2 separate regions of the Homo sapiens genome follow, and region 1 is linked to region 2. The links are contacts of gene promoters, found by promoter capture Hi-C in blood cells and fetal thymus (Javierre and others, 2016). All regions are on one chromosome and are shown on one strand. Each heading gives the region's core, a stretch centred on a gene start or on the middle of the fragment in contact. The rest is flanking DNA. Distances are from core to core; before and after follow the strand shown.

What was found. Contacts are between HindIII fragments. The CHiCAGO score rates a contact against its expected background, and 5 or more counts as called.
Region 1: the fragment with the promoter of OR52B2 here is called in contact with the fragment with the promoter of OR56B4 in region 2 in 17 of 17 cell types (monocytes, neutrophils, M2 macrophages and 14 more); the score reaches 19.0 in monocytes.

Annotation. Positions count from the first base shown.
Region 1 is chr11:6,167,324-6,173,297 of GRCh38, forward strand. It overlaps OR52B2 (olfactory receptor family 52 subfamily B member 2), which reads right to left and starts at 3,003. Exons shown (of 1, transcript NM_001004052.1): 1 at 2,032-3,003. The coding sequence starts at 3,003. The coding sequence ends at 2,032. The HindIII fragment of the contact is 5,039 bases long and covers 2,541-5,974 here.
Region 2 is chr11:6,105,556-6,111,993 of GRCh38, forward strand. It overlaps OR56B4 (olfactory receptor family 56 subfamily B member 4), which reads left to right and starts at 2,129. Exons shown (of 1, transcript NM_001005181.2): 1 at 2,129-3,280. The coding sequence starts at 2,224. The coding sequence ends at 3,183. LOC124902622 (a long non-coding RNA gene) reads right to left here. Exons shown (of 3, transcript XR_007062565.1): 1 at 6,386-6,438; 2 at 4,709-4,793. The HindIII fragment of the contact is 4,106 bases long and covers 1-2,654 here.

The DNA.
Region 1 (5,974 bases), core at 1,753-4,252, 63 kb after region 2:
ACAGAAGTGTGGGGAACACTGCTGACTCTAACTTTCTCTTGGACAGCCATGTGCATGACTCACAGAATATCAGCATTTTCCACAATTATCTGACCATGAAACTTTTTAATAAAACATTTATTTATATCTGATATCTACTGCTACAGAATATTCTGTGGAAAACTCTCTGTAATTAATGAAAAACCCTCCAAAGTATTTGACAGAAAGTGCCTTGATAAGCTCTGTCTTTTAGAAAATTTAATGTAGAGTCATTTCATAGTTTAGGCTAATGCGTAAAAGATTGAAAACATTGATCTCAGCTAAGAAAGTAATGCAATATCTGAAGTGAAAGATGAGAAAAGTCATAAGTAATTTGTATAGGCAGTGTTGAAAAGACTAACAATACTAGTAAGTATTAACAAAATATTTCTCAGAAACTATGAGCTAAAGATTATGTTAAGTATAGTCATAAGGTTTATTTCATTTAATCTTCTAAATAACCCTGTGAAGGTAACCTATAAAGTACCCATTTTATAGATTTAAAAATTGAGAACCAAAAATGTTAAACAAACTGTGCAAGTTCGCATAGCTAGAAAATGATGATGACAAGACTTGAGTCCTGATATGAGTCCAAATACTATCCATATACTTATTTAGTGGTACAATCAATATAAATATCAACCAATAACTTTTTGAGTATCAGCCCTAAGAGGAGAAAGTTGAAAAAGACTATAGGGTTTCCAGCTCAGTGAAGTTGATGGGATCATCATAATCTAGTTCCCAAGAAATGAAATGTAGGAAGAAAAGTGGAGTGGGAGTTCTACATCCTAGGAAGAATAACCAGTTAATAGGTGGATTTATGTGTCTAACACTCAAAAGAGAGCTTTAGACTAGAGACAGGGATATGGGACTCATTAGTGTTGGTGGTGGCTAAAGAAATGAGTGTACATGACCTTTTCTGGAAAAGCATAAAAGAATAAGAGTTGAGACTGTGAATCCCAAGAGAGTACTCCAATTTTGCCAACCTGGCCATGAACAATGTACTATAATTCCTAATTCTGGGTCTGGTCAAAAACTAGATATAAGAGAGAATCAAGAGTACCCTGTTTCCTCCTACTTTGTCTTTTCGCTGGTCCCTGAGTTACAGCAGAGAGAAGTACTGCAAATCAGCAGTTGATTTGGCTCAATTATGCCAAACTGCCTTCATGAGGAGCTGATTTACTAATCACTGGTTTTGTGAAATAATTTAGCTGGTCATTTCAGTGTACCATAGAGATGCCTGTTCTGATCTCAAGGAGATAATTGCGCTCCCATTCATTTTTCAAAAATGTAGTATGTGTCAGGCATTTTGTAATGCATTGGGGATACAAATATGAATAATATACACTCTTCTGATTTCAAGGAGTTTGCAGTCAATTGAGGGTACAAATAAATGAACAACTCATTACATTACAATTTATTATGCACATTTGGAGATTTGTACAAGATACACTAGACATGCAAACATAGGACCCTTGGCTTGCCTGGAGAAATTAGAAAAGACTCAACTTTTCTTGAACTAAAATTTGAAGGAAAGGAAGTTTTTCCAGATGACCAAAGGTCATGCATGGCTGTTCCTCAAACTCACCTGCCATTGTGGTAGTGGGTGGCAGGCCACTTGATTCTGTACAAAGAATCAATGCACATTTGGGATTTTTTTAAAAAATTAAAACCCCTTAAAATGGTAAATATAAAATTATTTTTATCCACTTCTTTATAACCTCATTTCATGTGGTGTTCAGATCCCTGCGCTTCTGGCGTCTATCTAGTCTACTGAGGGTACCAAAGCCTCATATCAGAGGCATGTACACTTAGTTATTATTTCTGGGTTGTAGGGAGGAATATGTAAAGAGGTTAGAGAAAACAAACAAGAGAAGGAGGAAGAATTATGAGAAAAGAAAGAAAAGTTGGGGGCGGAAGATGAAATAGAAAGAAGAGGAAGAAAAGCCTTCTCAGTCCAGGAAATCTCTGTATTTCACATCTAGCTTCCTTGAAGGAGCTGGACATGAAGATTCATGAGCCCAGAGGGGAGGTACAGCACCAAGTCTTGATGTCAAAGAACCGGTGGGCTACACCCTCACGTATCTGCTTAGTCTTCACACCATAGACAATGGGGTTCAGCATTGGTGGCACTGCCACATAAAGATTGGCCAGCAAGATATGGACATGTTGAGGAATATTACGCCCAAAATGATGGGTCAATAAGGTAAAGAAGGATGGAACATAAAACATAAGGATGACACAGAGGTGGGAGCCACAAGTGCTGAGGGCCTTGTGCCGAGCATCCTGGGAGGGCAAACGAAACACTGCTCGGAGGATCAGTGAGTAAGACACAGCGATGAGGATAACATCCAAGATGACCATGACAATGGGCACTGAGAAGCCATACCAAATGTTAACAGTGATGTCAGCACAGGCTAAACGAGCCACTCCAATATGCTCACAGTAGGAGTGAGGAACAATGTTGGTTAGGCAGAAGGGCAGCCGCTTCAGCAAGAATATGACTGGGAAGATGATGCAGAAGCTTCGGGTGATGACGGCCAGAGCAATCCTCCCCACAACAGGCCATGTTAGCACTGTTGTATATCTCAGTGGGGCACAAATGGCCACAAAGCGATCAAAGGCCATGGCTAACAGGATAGCTGACTCCCCCACAAACATCATATGGACAAAGAAGCCTTGGGTGACACAGGCATCAAAAGCAATGTTATGTGCTTGAAGCCAAAAGATGGCTAGGGCCTTGGGCACAGTGGTGGTAGACAGCAGGATGTCCATGACGGCCAGCATTGAGAGGAAGAAATACATGGGCACATGAAGGTTACGTTCCATGACAATAACCACTATCAGGATGCTGTTTCCCAGGACTGCAGTGATGTAAATGAGGCAAAGAGGTATTGACAGCCAAATGTGATAAGCCTCCAACCCAGGGATGCCAGGAAGGACAAAAACTGCAGGATGGAAGATGGTAACATTGGTGTGACTCATGATGCACTTTATGGTCCTCTCTATAATGACTTAGAAGCTGATGAGTCTACTGAAAGTGATAGAAACAGAAAGCACTCCCGAATATGTATAAATATCATAAAAGACAGCATGGATTTCTAAATTGCTGGACTCTCCAGCAGCAAGTACTCCCAGAGAATGTTCACTTGGTATAGGAATGGCTTCTGGCCCATAGTGCTTCCTTTGCAGATAGAGCTTCTGTGGCAATAATGCTTCAAGTATGAACAGAAGTGGCAGCACCTTCCTGCAACCACCCTGCCCCCAGAGTTTGGCCTCACTCTCCCTTTCTGACCTCATTCTACTATTTCCACACAAGCAGCATTTTCCACCTACCTGTGTTGTACTTGTCCCTTTCCCCAAGATTTTGTTCTGCATTTACCTTTAATTTCCCTCCCCTTCTACTTCTGTTTAACAAAATTTTAACCTTAAAATAAGTCCTCAAGACATACCACTTTGTAATGGTCTGTGTTCATAGCAATATATCTCCTTCCTAAAAAACTATTAACTAAACTATATTTTAACTGGGTTATATTTAATCCTATTAAGTTTATCTGGCTATTGCCTTGAACATTTCACAGGACACTTGCACCTCTGGCCCCTTGTGCAAGGGAGTAGAGTATCAAGTGGGAATCCAGAGGAAGCCTAGAGGGGTACATTTCTCCACTCTGATCCAGATTCATATCTTCCCTAATGCAGTGAGCAATGGGGCAGCCAATGAAACTGAGACAGGCAATTTTCATCACCAGCTCCTCATGGACTTCTCATGCTCCTCCTCAAATATTTCTATACAGGAGCCTCTTGGTTATGTCTGGGCTTCCTTATCTGTAGAAGCCCCCCAGGAAAACGATTCTGAGCAAAAGAAATCAATCTATTGCCCACCTGTAAACTCTGCTGACTCCACTAATACTGCCCTTCTTCCCACCCCACTGTTCCCCAACGCTCAGAAGGAACCATGTTTCCCTGCTGCCAAGAAGGATTAAGTATAGAGCCCTTCTTGGCTTGCCTGCCACTCAGGTAATATTTGTTTCATTCTGAAGTTCTGAACTATCTGTCAGCTATTAGGACTAGGGAAAGAGTGTATGATTAAGAATCTAGAAGGGAACATGAAGAAAAGGGACCACAGAGACAGTAAAGAGAGAATCAGAACTATAAAGGTACCAAATAAACACTAGACTGATCTTCTGATAATGGTATTCAGAGGGCCCCAAAGAAGAGATGCAAAGGAATCAAATCCTCAGTTTATTAGTCCATCCCTCTGCCTCTATGCAAATGAACTTTCTCAGAGCACAGTGGGCTGTGGGGAGGGAGCAATGGGACTCCAGATGGGTACAAGGAAGGGAATAGAGCCAGATCCAGACAAGTAAAGGCCGCAGGCAGGCTAATAATCTGACAGCATTCAAGTCAGTATATTTTAAATATTTGGGCCAGGCACAGTGTCTCATGCCTATAATCCCAGAAGTTTGGGAGGCCAAGATGGGAGGATCGCTTGAGGCCAGGTATTCAAGACCTGCCTAGGTAACATAACAAGACCCTGTCGCTACAAAACAATTTAAAAATTAGCCGGGAATGGTGGCACGCACCTGTAGTCCCAGCTACTTGGAGGCGGAGGCAGGAGGATCTCTTGAGCCCAGGAGTTTGGGGCTGCAGTGAATGAGCTATGATGGCACCACTGCACTCCAGCCTAGGTGATGGAGCAAGACTCTGTCTCTTTAAAATATATATATATACATATATGTATATATATAAAATACATATTATATGTACACATATATGTATATATATATGTGCGTGTGTATATATGTATGTTCAACTTCTACTTAGAAGAGAGGCTGAGCTTTGCTGGAATGAGCACAGAGAAGAAGTCATTAGTAGCACTGCTCTGGCTCTATTTTAAAGTATTGAACTCAAATTTATACAAGCAAAAGCCCCAGCAAAAAAAACAAATTCATTTTCCTTAGGAGGAAATTTATTGGACATTTATTTTCTCACAACTTTCCCAACCCCTCCAGTTATTAACATACTCCTTCTCAATAAAACAGTAAGACACCTGATATACGTCCTCATCAAAACAAGTCTGCTCTCTGCTTATGACTCTGTGATGTTTTATCACTCCAACAGTGAGTACCAAAGGCAGGGTGGAGAGAGGGGCAATGAGGCCTAGATGGCTGTTAATGAGGTCCTGGAAAGGAGGTTACTGCCCATGGAAAGAAGGACTTTCATTTTATCCAGTGGCGTCTTAGAGCTCCATCAAAGCCCTGCTGCTCCTCTGTCAAGCACCTTTGGAGCGTTCGAGCCTCATTTAGGAAAGAGTTAAGGGTGAGAAGAAAGGAAACTCACAGGCAAAAAGAGGAATATCCAACGTCTCCCAGAAGTACCTCCCAGAGCTCCCAAGAGAACATCCAGCTGAGCGAGAAAAAAAAGAGCCAGAATAGTAGAGATGGAGCAGGAGCCAAGCTAGCTGGGAAAGAACACAACAAAGAAGGTGTAGATATTAAGTTCCGGAGCCAGACTTTCTGCATTCATTTCCCAGTTCTTCCCTAACTAACTAGATCTTGGGCAAGTCACTTTACTTCTGCATGCCTCAGTTTTTTTATTTGTAAGATGTGGATACCTGGGGAGGGGGGAGGGATAGCATTGGGAGATATACCTAATGCTAGATGACACGTTAGTGGGTGCAGCGCACCAGCATGGCACATGTATACATATGTAACTAACCTGCACAATGTGCACATGTACCCTAAAACTTAGAGTATAATAAAAAAAAAAATTAAAAAAAAAATTAAAAAAAATAAAAAAAAAAAAAGAATCCCTGATATAAAAAAAAAAAAAAAAAAAAAAAAAAGGATGTGGATACCAAAAAAAACTTCATGTGGTAATTGTGGGGATTAAATAAGTTTGTATTGAGTGCTCAGAAAAGTAGGTTACTATTCTTGTTTATATCATCATCATCATC
Region 2 (6,438 bases), core at 879-3,378:
TCATGAATGGATGAATGGATAAAGAAAATATGAGATATATAGAGAGAGATATATATAGATACATACACACTATATATACACACACTGTATATAGTATAGAGAGTGTATATATATATCCAATGTGATACGCACACACACACACAGTGGCCTATTATTCAGCCACAAAAAGGAATAAAATCCTGTCATTTGCAGAAACATGAATGGAACTGGAGGTTATTGTGTTAAGTGAAATAAATCAAGTAGAGAAAGACAAATATTACATGTTCCTACACATGTTTGGGAGCTTAAAAAGTGGATCTCAGCTGGGCACGGTGGCTCACGCCTGTAATCCCAGCACTTTGGGAGGCCAAGGCAGGCAGATCACCTGAGGTCAGGAGTTTGAGACCAGCCTCGCCAACATGGTGAAACCCCATCTCTACTAAAAATACAAAAATTAGCCGGGTGTGGTGGCACACACCTGTAATCCCAGCTACTCGGGAGGCTGAGGCAGGAGAATCGCTTGAACCTGGGAGGTGGAGTTTGCAGTGAGCCGGAAAAAGAAAAAAAGTGGATCTCACAGAAGTAATGAATAGAATGGTGGTTACCAGAGGCCGGAAAGGGTGGGGGTAGGGGAAGAATAGAGGGTGGCTGATGGGGACAAAAATACAGTTAGGTGGAAGAAATAAGTTCTAGTATTCAATAGCACAGTAGGAAAATTATAGTTAATAATTTACTGTATGTTTCAAAATCGCTAAAAGAGAATTGCAATGTTCCTAACACAAAGAAAAGATAAATGCTTGAGGTGATGGATATCCTAATTACACTGATTCGATCATTACACATTGTATACATGTATCAAAATATCACATGTACCTCCAAAATATCTACAAATATGATATATCAATTCTAAAAATACAAAAAAAAATCATTAAACTATAGGGCATCTAGGTGGTAGAAAATAATGCAACTTAACTGCAGTATGGAAATATGGAGCAGTCTTCAAAATATTAAGTTAAAAAAGAAAAGGAAAGAAAAAAGGAGAAAGGTGTGCTAACAATTGATTATGTCTTTTATGAAAATTATATATATATATATATATATATATATATGTTTTTATCCATGCATAAACTATTAATGGAAGGATTCCCAAGAAACATATTACTGGCTGCCTCTAGTGAAAAGGAAAAAGATTTCAAAGCCCCAAGCATGAGAGTCTTACTTTTCATTGTTTATATTTTTCATTTTATTTTGATTTTTACCATGTATAGATAATATATCTTAAAATAAAATCAAAATTATATTTAAAATTTTAAGACTATTATATCCTTTGTATATATAATTTTTGCATCACTTTTGAAACTCTACTCAAGGAAAACAATATTAAAAGCAAAATACCTGTCAGTAAATTATAGAATAGCCAAATGCAAAAATTTAAAGCAGCAATTAAAATTAACATCACACTTTTTAAATAATATTGTGAAGTCTTTGGTTAATGTATTCATCCATGAAATAAAATTTTTGAGTGCTTATATTACATCTTAACACATACTGCTAAAAGACAAAAACAAGATACAAAATCATCTCTAGATAATGATGTAGACTGTTTAAAAATAAAATAGAAAATTGGAAATAAATCAAATACTAACATTTGTTATCTGTTAGTGATAAGACTGTTGTTAATATATGTGGACATGCTTATTAGACATACAAGTGGTGATGAAAAATAGTTATTCCAACTCTTCTGTTTAGAATTTTTTTGCTTTTTTTGTTATTCCTCTGTGGAATATTTCCAGAAGTCAAATAAAGTTGAGGGTCATTCATGAATAAAAGGAGCTGGTTCATTATTGAGGAGCTCTTACCAAGACACTTAACTTTTTGTTTTGTTTTGTTTTTTAAGACAGGGTCTCACTCTGTTGTCCAGGCTGGGGTGCAGTGGCACAATCTCGGCTCACGGCAACCTCCGCCTCCCAGGTTCAATGATTCTCATGCCTCAGCCTCCCAAGTAGCTGGGATTACAGACAGGCACCACCACACCCAGCTAATTTTTGTATTCTCCGCAGAGATGAGATTTTGCCATGTTAGCCAGGTCAGTCTCGAGCTCCTGACCTCAAATTATCTGCCTGTCTCAGCCTCCCAAAGTGCTGGGATTACAGGCATGAACCACGATGCTCAGCCCCTTAGCTGAACTTTTAAACAGAGATTTCTTCTATTTCAGACAGACACTGAGACTGAGGCACCCATTCCATGGATACCTCCACCAGTGTTACCTATGACTCCAGCCTCCAGATTTCCCAGTTCATCCTGATGGGATTACCAGGCATTCATGAGTGGCAGCACTGGCTCTCCCTGCCCCTGACTCTGCTCTACCTCTTAGCTCTTGGTGCCAATCTCCTCATCATAATCACCATTCAACATGAGACCGTGCTACATGAACCCATGTACCATTTGCTGGGCATATTAGCAGTGGTGGACATTGGCCTGGCCACCACCATCATGCCCAAGATCCTGGCCATCTTCTGGTTTGATGCCAAGGCCATTAGCCTCCCCATGTGTTTTGCTCAGATCTATGCCATCCACTGCTTCTTCTGCATAGAGTCAGGCATCTTTCTCTGCATGGCAGTAGACAGATACATAGCCATCTGTCGCCCTCTTCAGTACCCCTCCATAGTCACTAAAGCTTTTGTCTTCAAAGCCACAGGGTTCATCATGCTCAGGAATGGCCTGTTGACCATCCCAGTGCCTATACTGGCTGCCCAGAGACACTACTGTTCCAGGAATGAAATCGAGCACTGCCTCTGCTCTAACTTGGGGGTTATCAGCCTGGCTTGTGATGACATCACTGTGAACAAATTTTACCAACTGATGCTAGCATGGGTCTTGGTTGGGAGTGATATGGCTCTGGTATTTTCTTCCTATGCTGTAATCCTTCACTCTGTGCTGAGGCTGAACTCAGCAGAAGCAATGTCCAAGGCTCTGAGCACTTGTAGCTCCCACCTCATCCTCATCCTCTTCCACACAGGTATCATTGTGCTGTCTGTCACACACCTTGCAGAGAAAAAGATTCCCCTTATTCCTGTGTTCCTTAATGTGCTGCACAATGTCATCCCCCCTGCACTCAACCCCCTGGCCTGTGCACTCAGGATGCACAAACTCAGACTGGGCTTTCAGAGACTGCTTGGACTGGGTCAGGACGTGTCCAAGTAACTCCAGCTTTAGGAATCCAGTAAGATGTTAGGAAATGACAGAGGTTTTAGTTCTCAATAGATCAGGGTTATAATCTGCACTTACCACACTCCCTAGGAAAAAAATGGCCAATAAAATCATGAAAACTGTCAGCCTCACTAATCAAAATATGTATATTAAAATTACAAGAAAATTTCCTATTACCTGGAAAATAAGTAAGAACAAAAAAGTGAAATGTTTCTAACTATTACTGCTAGCCTACCCCGAGATTAACACTTTCCTACACAACTGGTAGGACTATAAACACACCAAAAAGCAATTTGGTAAAATTTATCAAAATGTTTATAAATGTTTAAATGTTCTTAACCAGTAATTCTATTTTAGAAAAATATCCAAAAGAAATAGTCTAAATGCAGTCAAAAAGTTATTCATAAAAATCATTATAATATGACTAATAATAGAAAACAAAGCCTTTAATATTTACACATATTTAACTCTTACATATTTATGTGCTTTTCATATGTAATTTTTATAATAAAAAGTAAACAATAAATGTTTATTAAAAAGGAGTAAAGTTTAATTTTCGTACCCAAAAAAATCTCAATAATTAATGAATTAATGGTTAACAAGTGTTAAATACTTCTTGTAGGCCAGAAACTTTGATAAAATATGTATGTAGATTATCTGACTCAATTCTCACAATAACCCTTTGGGCAGGTACAATATTATTCCCAATTTCCAGCTAAGAAAACTCAGGCACTGGAAATTATAGAACTTGCCCCCTGACAGCACAGTTTCTAAGTGGGAGAGCTGGGATTCAAGTCCTGGGAAGTCTGATTGAAAAACCATAGCACTATTCTTACTCTCAGTCTTGCTCTGTTCCAAAATTTCTGTGTGAACTTGAACAACTTATGAAACCTCCCTATGTTTCAATTCTTCTGATTAAAAGTGACAAAAATCATAACATTTTGCTGAGCCAAATCGCAAACATGCTGTGACAATCAAAAGAGATAAAGAATACATGCTTTGAAATAAGATATACACATGGAAATATAAATCTAACTATGTGGCAGTTTTCTTGCTAGGAAAGGAAGAAAATGGATCCTAGAAAATGCCCTATAAAAATAGTTTCAAATAACCTGTTAATTAAAGCTAACTGAATTTTTGCTGTTTGCTCACCTAAAAAAATTGCACACTTTTTGAGTACAAGAACCATTCATGTGTACTTTCAATGAGCCTCAGTCAGAACATTGCACACAGTAGGTGCTTAATTCATTATATAATCAGGGAGCATTATAGATCTGTTGAATTATGTGTATCAAAGAAAATACCTGGACCATGGTCTGAATAATGACCTCAGGAAGTTTGCACATGAGTCCACCTTGGAAAACAACTTCTTAGGAAATAGCACAAGGACTAAAGCAACATCAGAAACCATCAGCTCATCTCACCAGAGTAATGCATGCTGGGCAGCATAACAGAGCTGCAGGGGGAAGTCATCTGTGTGCGGGACAGGACTTCTTAAGAGTTATGCTTGGAAACTTACCCAAAAAGAGACTATCAACTTCCTCCAAAAGAATTGGCTGCTTCATTCTTTCTTGACAGTGATTCAAATGGAAGCAACTGATCATCTAATAAGAGGAGGCAAGAGAGAGACAATTACAGAAAGGATTTTAACTTAACTCAACCTCCCATGGTTTGTTACCCTGAAGGATCAGAGTAATAACATCTAATCCTGCAGAGTTCTTCACAGTTTGCAAAATACTTTCCCACAGTGGATTGAGTAATTTCACATAATTTTCATAGCAGTCCTCTTAATTAGGAAGCTGTTAAAGGATTACTATTAATTCTTTTCTACAAAGAAATAGGGGCTAAGTTTGGGTAATTATATAAATTCACCCACTGGGAAGTGGCAGTACTGAGGCTCAGGCAGTTTAGCTGTCTCTGGTAGATGGCAATAGTGTGCCATCCTCAAAGCTGCCTTTAAACTTTCATTCATACATACCTTTATTTATTTATTTGTTTATTTATTCATTCATTCAAAAATACATAGCATGAGTCTATGCACAGCAGCCCAAATTGTAGGCCACTCTCAACAACTTCTGTGGACATGTGTCTCAGTTCTTCTGAAAATAAATAAACACCTAACATTCATCTTGGAGTCAGGAAGATTTATGCAATTAATTATTCTCTCCTCTATATGTGCCATGAGGATAAAAAAAGATTGTGCATTGTTTTATTTTTATGAATTATTTATGTTTGTCATGTATTTCATATTTGCCCATATGCTTTGCTTTATATGATTTTAATACTGTCATACTATATTTGCCTGTTTGTCTTCTCTCATTCACTTCTTTCCATATTCCTTTGATATTTTAACTTTAGTCTGTCTTTTGGAAACACCGTTAGTTTGATCTTTATTTTTAACCATATTTGAGGAACTTTCCCTTTAAATAGGGGAACTAAGTCCATTCATATTTGTTATAATTCCTATGATTTTGTTTTGTTTCACCCTGTCATCTTATTTATTTTTATTATGTTTTCTGGCAGATTTCTCCTACTCCTGACTTTTGCTGAACTGATCTCTTTCACACATCTCCCCACATCCCCATTTCATTGATCTGCACATTTTATTAAATATATCTATTTGACAGGTTGTTGTATGCATAACTTTATTAACACATTCAAACTTATACTTTTTTATTAATATGCCCAAATTACATAATAGTTATGCAGTATTTTCTCATTCCAATTCCAAGCTCAAGATAAGAACTTTATCATTTTTATGTCTCTTTTATTCTCTGTTGAACATCTCACTGAATATGGCACATTCCAAAGACAAGCATAATAATAGCTCCCACCTCACATGCTCTTTTGCAGTGAAACATTAACAATTCCGTATCAAGAAATTGAACTTAGTTCCCCTTCTCCTTGAATCTGAGCCTCACTGATTCACTTTTAACCAAGAGAATGTGACAGAAGTCCAAAAAAAGCCATTCAGCATCCACTTGTGTCTCCTGGAAAATTTGCTCCCTGGTTGCTCCCTGGAGGATGCTCCCTGTCAGAATCCAGCTGTCACGTGATGAGAAGTCTAAACCACATGACAAGGCCAAGTATGGGGACTCTAGTCAACAGCCCCAGCTGAGCCCAGCCTTGGAATCATGCTAGCCCAGGAAGTCTAACATGTGAGTGAAGATGTCTTCAACAGATTCCAGTCACTAACCATTTGATCACCTCCAGCTGTCTGAGTCTTCTGAGCCAAGGCTGCATATTTGT